Regions from separate parts of the Homo sapiens genome. Here region 2 is linked to region 1. Evidence: promoter capture Hi-C in 16 types of primary human blood cells and fetal thymus (Javierre and others, 2016). All regions are on one chromosome and are shown on one strand. The core of a region is centred on a gene start or on the middle of the fragment in contact, and the rest is flanking DNA. Distances in the headings are between cores, read along the strand shown. Region 1 holds the start of PEX5L-AS2 (PEX5L antisense RNA 2). Region 2 overlaps SOX2-OT (SOX2 overlapping transcript).

Region 1 (4,750 bases), core at 189-2,688:
CAAGTAGTTCTCACCTTCCATAGCATTCACCTGAGGGACTGTGGACTTAAAATTTTGGACATGGGAGTCTACAGAGGTCTGACTCTGATTCAGTGTAAAACTGTATATGTTTTACTATGTATATTAAGTAAAGAATGAGGAATTTGGTAAATATCAAGCAAATTTCTTTCCAATGATTACCATGTGTTATTAGGAAGTAGCATCTCTTCTTTTGGGATAAAAAAAGCTGAAAACATAAAATGTATCCCAAAGTCTTGGGAATCTTTAATAGCTTTAAAAATTATTTAATTTTGATGTTATATGTTATAATTTTTATAACTTACAACATAGTATTTAGAATAAAGTAAAACCACACATGTTGGCAGCAGCTGGGGATGAGATCCGCTGATATTCTAAAAATAAGTTGCCATAATTTAGCTTTTGATATAAATGTCTTTCATGAGGACTGTAAATGGACATTTTTCGAATTCTAGGCATGTTCATATAATCGGAACTGAATCATATAATCGGAACTGAATGGAAAAAATGAAATGTTTAAAATAATCTAATCTAAATTATAAGATAAATGCAAGTAAAAATATTTCTCATTTGCGATTTTAAAACTGGTAGTTCCACAGAGTGGTGATGAGTACATTATACATATTTATGTAGATTTTACAGGGTGTTTCAAAAGTCCCCGAGGACATATAGGATTCACAGTCTCCACATGTCTTTGCATACAAATGAAGACTTTTTTCTATACTTGTTATAATAAATGCTGAAAATGGCTCTCATGTGCTTATAATAGAGATGACATTTTTGTTCTCAAGGTCACTATGTATAAGAGGGGTCACAAATGCCATTTTCTGCATGGGGACTCAGGGACTTCTGGCTCATTCCTGTAAATTAGTTATCCACATAAATATGTATAGACATATATGTAGTATGCATAGTCACAACATAAATATATTTAACATTTAAGAAAATTTAGATATTCTACTGGTAAACTGACATATGTATACAATATAACTTGTTTTTATTCATAGGAATTTGATTTTTTTTTGTTCAAATGTACTGTTAGCTTAATTGTTATTTCTTTCCCAAAGTTTTTAACAAGACTCCTTTATAAAGAAGCAACATGTTTTACTTGCACATATATTCTCTTTCTCTTTTGTCTTAACTAAAGTTGAGTAATGAAATTAATATTCACAAATAAATAACTAGATGGTGAATTTTTCTTTTTTTAGCAATTTTGGTTTTCATCTATATTTGTATAATTGTTTCATTGAAACTGTCTTTAAAAAAATTGGTTCAAGAGTTAAAGTTTTTTTTTTCTAGTTAAAAATCACAATGTCTGATATATTAACATATGTCAGCTTCCTACAGAAACCCTATGGGTCTGCCCACCTGTGATGTCATAGTAAGGAGGGGCTTTTCTTCAGCAGACTCCTCCCTCGGTATCTCCTTCATCACCATGGCAACAGCCTTATCTGCCGCCCTAGAGCCTTTTCCCTATAACAGTGAAATCAACAATGACTGTGTCAGGAGAGATCTTTAACTTATTATTTATTACAAGATATTCTAATGTTTAAAGAGCAATCCAACATAAATGAAGAGGTAGGCTGCTGCAAGTGAATCTTGAGGCTTTTGGCTGAGGAGAAAACACACAAAATCTGAAAAAAGATTATTTGTGAACTTTTAGTTAGCTACTTTTTCCCCTTTACAGCTGACATATTACATTTAATTTTAACATAGTATTTTATATGTATAATATGTTTTAAGGAAATTAACATGACATGAATTTTTTGTAATATCAATTTAAAAACACTATGGGTTGCCTGCTACGTTCATTTATAAATTATTACTACATAATTCCTAAATATTTTGAATGACAGGAGTTTGGGATAGAGATTAGAAGCAGGATCCAACTCCCACAGAGGGCTTTTGCTGGGTGATCTCTGGAGTCTTTGCCATTTTTGAGTGGATTGGGATAAAAAGAGTAAAAATGTTGCAAAATATCTAAAAATCCTCCAGTGGCTTGACATAACAGTAATTCACCCAGTCTGTTTTGTGGAGATGGTATAAACTTCATGAAAAAAACATTTTGCAACTTTCAATGTTTTTGAGACCAAATAATTTTAATAGAGTTTTAGAAGTGTCTTTTAACTGAAGAACCCCATAAATACAGACATAAAGGATAATTAATACGTAAAGGATAATCCATAACTGACGTAAAGGATAATTAATATTGTGGCACTAATCTATATCTCTCTATATATCTATAGATACAAATGTATATGTATATATATAGATAATATGTATACAAACACATACATATCCCTATGTTATTTGTCTCAAAGAAGTAGAATTATAAACTGTAAAGGGATATGGTGGCTTTCTGTTATTTGAGTTTACCAGATTATTACATTTTTTGAGACTAGATATGGTATAATGGGAAAGCCCCCCAAAATATTACCTTTCCATCCCAATTAGAAAAATTTCATACTATGTAAAAATTAAATAATCCTTAAATACTTTAAAAACAAAAACTTCAATTTTCTCAGGTCTCTGGGTAAAGCCTCCCTGAAGAAAATAATTTTATACTAAGAAAAGATATGAATATTTGTGTTGTAAATCTACTTAAAATACAAATGTAGCAGACAGACCTATCACAGGCAGAGAAACGAAAACCGACATATGGGGGTCTAATATTGGAAAAGGGAATTAAGAGCCAGGGTTGATATTAACTCAGAACTTAATAAAGCTTGATCGTTTCCATGCAACAAAAAGGATACAATTACATCATTATCTTGTGCTTTCAAAGGGCTTTAAGTATTTAGAAGGTAGGTTTACTCTAGGGATCAAAACATTATCCATTTTCTCAGGCACTGACTTTCTAAAATGTAGCCAGAGGCAGCTTTTCTTTATGAGAACAAAGAAAAACTTTTTGTATAGCTAATAGATTTTTAAATGTGTGTATCTGTTTACAATGCTGAAAGTTTGTTTCTTTGTTTTGTTTTGACTTTATAACTAGCATTATTGAATTATAATGTGTTATTTCCAAGATGGAATATCAAATACTAGAGATTTTATTCAGCAGATATGTCAGTAGTAATTTTCATATATGTATGTGTTTTGAAAAGTTTATATGGCCACAATTCATAGAATAACTGACTTCTGGAAGAATAAAGGATAACTTGATTCATTGCATAACAAATTGAGGTGCACAATGATTCCAGGTTTCTTCTTTAATGAAGCAATGTGAACTTCCTAAAATGGAGATGCAAACAATTCTGAATTCTGGGAAAAGATTTATTATGGCACTATAACTTGTTTACATTTTATCAAAATATAAAAATTATTTGGATGAAACATCACACGCTATAAACTTAGTACATCTTTATAAGCTACACTCATTTACAGACTAAATATGGTTTATAACAAATATTTTTGCAGCTTACGTTTTTCAAGAGAGCAAAGTCATTTGTGAAGAATTCTTTCCATGCTTCAGTAAGTTCTAGTAATATAGCAATAAACAAAGTGGCATGCTTATATTTCAATTCCTATTATATTTAAAATAACAAATCTAATGTTACAAGGTATAATTTAATTTAAGAAAATAATAATTTAGATTCTTTTCTTGGGCTAAGAAAAAATGTCAATTGATAAGCATCTCAAAAAATTTCAGGTCAATTTTTCAGTACATTATTTATTTGAAATGCTACCAATCCATAAACTACATAGAGATACTTTTTTACATGTGCAACTATAATAGCTAGAGTTAGCAAGGGACATGCCATTTCACTAAAACAAAAACAAAAACAAAACAAAAATTAGTCCTTTCATGCTGAACTCTAGAACAAAGCAGTGGTCAGCTAGAAAGGATGTACAATAAATACATGCGGTGCTTTTTATTTCTTGCAGAAAAAACCCACCAAAGCCAGGGTCAGGTCACTTTTTTGAAGACAGTGCCACTTTTTCTTCAAGGTTACACCTACTACCTGAAAAGAGTCATGACACACCCATGTTAGTGCCTGCTAGCAACTTTTTTCTTTACAGCCTTTTTTGGCTTTTGCGATAATACCCCATGAGCGTCACTGTTTTACAAGTGCGGTACAGTCTGAGGACAGAATGGGAAGGTCTGCCACAATGACATCTCCATGGTACCAGATACAGTGTCTAAAACCACTGCCAAATCAAGTGAATACACTCATGTATCAATGCAAGATTTCCCCCAAATCAAATTGCCTCCTCCACCTGTTATCTTAAAATCAAGCTGTGTTATTTCTGACTTGTCTATTTATCTCGTGGGATAATGCTTCCAGAAATCAGAACCTGACTGATAATTGGCTTGGCAATTCATGGAACTTTACAAATTTGCTTATCAGCAGCTCTGCAGGGCTGATGACAATATAACTGTGCAGGTTTCTTTCTTTTTTGAAGGCAGTAGCTTAAAACATTGTAAGATATATATGTAATTGTTCAGACTTCAGACTCAATTTTCAAAAACATTGTAAGATATATATGTAATTGTTCAGACTTCAGACTCAATTTTCAAAAACATTGTAAGATATATATGTAATTGTTCAGACTTCAAACTCAGTTTTCAAAATATAACCACACCAAAGGGTCGGTTTTCATCTATTATGTGAGACAACATGAAGACAGACAAAATAAAATATACACTGAATATACATTCAAGCATATAAGCAGTTTATAAACTTTAGATAACATTAAGTCTATATGCTTCTATGCCACTCAGCAACAATGG
Region 2 (4,629 bases), core at 1,923-4,422, 1.4 Mb after region 1:
AATTAGGCAGTGACCTGATCCTATAAATCAAAGACCTTTAGTAACTATAGCTTAGGAAGTAAGCATGGATGCTTTGGATAATTGTAAGAAGAATGTCCCCAAAAGTAATGACAACAGTAATAGCAATTACAGCAGAGTAATAAAAATAATTATATGAAAATTTATTATGTTCTAGCTACTGTTTTAAGTGCTGTATTTATATTAACTTATTTATTATCCTAAAATTCATTCACTTAATAAACATTTATTAAATGCCTCCTGTGTGCAAGGTGCCATGGGCAAAATAGATAAAACCTCCTTCCCTTATGAACTATATTTTAGTGTAAAGAAAAAGACAATCATTGATACAAAAAATGAGTAATTAATAAATTACATCATATATTGGAAAGTGAGAAATGGTATTTTAAAAAGTAGACAGGGCAAAGGAAATCTCAGTAGTGCTGGGGTAGGTGGGGATCAGTTTGCATTTATTAAATAGAGAAGCCAGAACTGCTTGCAGTGAGAAGGCGGGATTTAAGCAGTCTTGAAGGAGAAGATGCATGAGCAGGCAGATATCTAGGGGATGAGGGTTCCAGGCTGTGGGAACTGCTAGAGCAAAGACCTCTGTGTAGGAGTTGCCTCTGTGTTCAGGAGCAGGAAGATCTTGTGGCTAATGCTTGAAGACTGTCATAAGGAACTGAACTTCACTCAGAATTCAATGTGAAGCCACTGCATGCATTTGATCAGAAGAGACACTTGGTTCGACCGTGTTTTAAATGGATCACCCAACCACACTGATAATAGATTTGTGTGGCAGGAAGACTGATTAGGAGACTTTTGAAATAATAGTGGTGGGGACAAAGGTGGCCGTTGTGAAAGTAATGAAAAGTGGCCAAATTCTTACATTTATGTTGAAGACAAATTAAGTAACTTACCCAAAGTTACAAAGTTAATAAATGACAGAATTGGCGATTGAACCCAGGAAGTCCAGACTCAAAAACTGCTCTGACATAGAGTATGGCCTGACCTATAAAAAGAGATGGTGAGAACTCATAAGTGGGAGTTGAACAATGAGAACACGTGAACACAGGGAGGGGAGCATCACACACTGGGGCCTGTCGGGGGGTGGGGGGCTAAGGGAGGGATAGCATTAGGAGAAATAGCTAATGTAGAAGACAGGTTGATGAGTGCAGCAAACCACCATGTCACATGTATACCTATGTAACAAACCTGTTCTGCACATATGTCCCAGAACTTAAGGTATTAAGAAAAAAAAAAAAAACAGAGCGATGGCGAGAAGACAGGCAGAGCTTTCTAACAATTATGCCAGTAAGAGAGTGATTTTCGATGGTGGGGTCTAAGTTGAAAATGGAAAGCCATTTGTCTGTGATAAGCAGGGGAGCTTCATACATGGGAGCAAGGTGTTTAATAAAAATGACTTTTAAGCCCCTTCTAACCCTATGATTCCCAGATTCCAAATATAGAATGGCACAGTTTATACTGTTTGTCAATAGAAATTGACAATTCTAATGATTACTATTTTGAAAACCATTTTCTTGCCTTCATCTAGTTTACCAAGGTGTAACCAATGCTAGATTTGTCCCCTGTTCTCAAGGAAAGGATGAAAACTTGATGAATCTGATGAGTCTCTGAAGTGACTAAAAATAAACCCATGAAATTGCCATTTTGAATGCAAATTTAAAACATTTACATATTTGCAGTGCAAATGCCATTACTAGGTAGTTTGGAGATATAAAATCATAAAATAATAGAGGATACTCACGGATTAGGATGATGCATGATCATTGCATAAAACCCTTCAGTACTGCTATATGGGTCTGGCTAATTGTTCAAACAATCAAGGTACTATACCCTGTATGTGTGCATTGTTGGCACACCACTGGAGTGTTAGACTATTTGTGTTTGTTTATGAAAAGTACCTGACTCTGTTTCTGGTATAGCTGTGGGTTGATATGCTAGGTGGTGATCCAAAGATACAACTTCGCCTAAATCGTTTTAAATGTTCTTTACCATAATGTCAAAGTGTTTTGGACAAACTCCTGCTAGGTGTGATATTTCCTGCTATGAGCAATGTATAGCAAGTCTGTAAAACCTATCAAGTACTGCTAGGGCATTTGGTGGGGCAGGAAATATGACAACCTGGGAACAATTTTTGGGCTACTTGTAGTTGACCAAAGAGACCAGATAGATGCATGCTGCTTGGTAGAACGGGAAGAGAGGGAAACAAAATGAGGTTGAAGTAGATCCTGACAATTGACAAAGAAATGCCAGAGCCTCTATGTAGAAGAAAAGCTATTGAAATTCAACCTATCTCTGAAGGTGGAAAGTTGTAGGTTAGTATGCTTTGCCTGAATTTGAGTATATCTGGAGTGCTATTGGTTAGTCTTTTCAAAGAAGGAAAATTAAGCCCAAAGAGAATAAGGAAAAAATAGACCCTTTTCCCCCACCCACATACTACCTATAGAATGGAATCTGTGATAATGACCCTGTTGGACTTGATTCTGTTTTTAAAATTACAAAAAGTAAAACTGTTTCTTTCTTTACACTGATGTGTGTGTGTGTGTGCATGTGTGTGTACTTTCATCATGCAAATATTCCAAGACCTAACAGAGAGAGCCATTAGTTACTTGAGGCAACTTGCCAGCCTACTGTAGAGCATAAGTTCAGATCTTAATGGTGACTTCTTGTCATTTGAGACTGTTTGAATAACATATCAAAGGAAGAGAATCTCAAATAAGTTGTCTAAATTTAGTAAAGAAACCTCTTCTCCCTGGTAGTTTTGCTTTGTATTTCTTTTGGAACACCATAGACATAATAAAGAGCACTAAGAATTTCAAGTCTGATACTTTACTTTTTGAAAAGCTGTGGCTTTCTTTCAGGTTTTGTTTGATACTAGCAACTGATGTCTGAACCATGAAACAAAACTGTATCGATCTTACCTCTTGCAATGTATAATTGTATTTCCACTTGGACTCTTGCTGTTTAGTTCTTAGTGCAATTTTAATGAGTTCTTTTTGTTTGTCTTCTTCACACGTAATATGCAGCCAACGTACTGTTTTAGAATTTTAGATCAACTTTTATAATTCCCAAAAATTAATTGTAGAAAACGTTTCACTTTGTAAATGTGTACATGTAGAGAACTAGCACCCCCTAGTGTATTTAAAGCCCCCAAAGGTGTGATCTGGCATTTAATAAGCTAATAACAAACAGGAATGTGTTCCAATAGACAGGTTATTTGTTAACTTTTCCCACTGGCATTATGACATAATTTGTTTAGGCACAGGGAAAGCATTTCTTAAAGTTAATAAAGATTATAAATAAAGAATGAATATCGTATTTCAAACATGGAAACTAAAATTTTAAAACCATCATTGGCATTTGAACTGCTGGTGATATTTAAAGGCTGTGAAATAAAATAGCAATCTGTGGTCATGCTGCTAATTTTCTAAATTCTCTCTCTTTTAGAAAATTTCAGCAACATTCTTGTTTCTGGAAGGCTATAAAATTGAAAGTGTTTAGGATTTTTCTTCTGTTGGTGACTGTTGTACTGTGTGTTCCTTAATGAAACTGTAAACTGAAAATTACAGCTTTATTCCAGAGAGAGAGAGAGAGGACTTATTCCAACAGATGGCATCAAAACACCGGTCTAAACTGTATGATCGCTGATTGTTAATTGCATCTGTAAAACAATCCTTTTAAACAGAGTAATACATTTTATCATACAGATTATAGTTCCATGCTTTTTGGTTTTTCAATGTGTGTTAACATTTTCTGCTCCAATATAAGATTTGTGCTTGTATAATTATCAGATTAAACAACAGAACAACAGTGACTCAATCATTTTTAGGAAACATGCACAAGGGAGATAGGGAACCATAAATCACATTTTATTTGGACATTGTACTTGAGAAATGTTGGGGTTTTTATCAGGTTATATAAAAAGGAAGAATGGGCTAGAGCTCACCCTCATCAAATTAAAACGGTAGAAACCTATAAAATATCTTAAATATATGCTAAACATATACTGTACTTTAAAATGTATCTCACTGTAGGAAGAAACATGTTTCATTTACATAGATCTTTGAAATGAAAAGGAAATGTAAAAGACACATAATAAGAAAGAAGTGTTCTCTGAAAAATTAGAGATTAAGGCACACAGCTTCCTTTCTGAAATGGTTTCCATGAAAGCCTATGTAGAAGCAGAGGAATGGGTTTGATGACATCGTGAAGACAGACCTTTTTAGTAAGATTTTTCCAAGATATAGACAGTATTGGGCAAATGGAATATGAAGATTAGATCTTGTGTTGCTTCTGCAGCCTGGGTGATTCAGAGCTGGGAACCTGAAATTTAGAGATGTGGAAAGGATGGTTAACATTCATGTCATCATGAGACAGCTTTTTGGTTCATAGGTGCCACATCAGATTCTCCTGTCTACATTTGATATATTAAGGGTGAATAAAATTAATGGATGTCAAACTTCTGCTATTTCAATTTTTTGTTCCATCCTCTGGGAAAGGATTATAGACAGGAGGGTACCCTAGCTTGTTGAGCTGGAAACATATATTTAATAAGTCAAATTGTGATGATCCCATTTCTGAGTTTTCAGGTATCTTCACTTGATATATAAG

The links. Contacts are between HindIII fragments. The CHiCAGO score rates a contact against its expected background, and 5 or more counts as called.
Region 2: a contact is called between a fragment that was not itself captured here and the fragment with the promoter of PEX5L-AS2 in region 1, in 1 of 17 cell types (total CD4 T cells). The highest score is 5.8, in total CD4 T cells.

What each region holds. Positions count from the first base shown.
Region 1 is chr3:179,896,756-179,901,505 of GRCh38, forward strand. It overlaps PEX5L-AS2 (PEX5L antisense RNA 2), which reads left to right and starts at 1,439. Exons shown (of 3, transcript NR_110059.1): 1 at 1,439-1,596. It overlaps PEX5L (peroxisomal biogenesis factor 5 like), which reads right to left. Exons shown (of 15, transcript NM_016559.3): 3 at 1,387-1,491. The HindIII fragment of the contact is 5,337 bases long and covers 1-2,741 here.
Region 2 is chr3:181,275,737-181,280,365 of GRCh38, forward strand. The region is part of intron 3 of SOX2-OT (SOX2 overlapping transcript); the gene reads left to right. Among named protein-coding and RNA genes, the nearest start is that of SOX2-OT, 220 kb to the left of the region's middle. The HindIII fragment of the contact is 6,428 bases long and covers 1-4,629 here.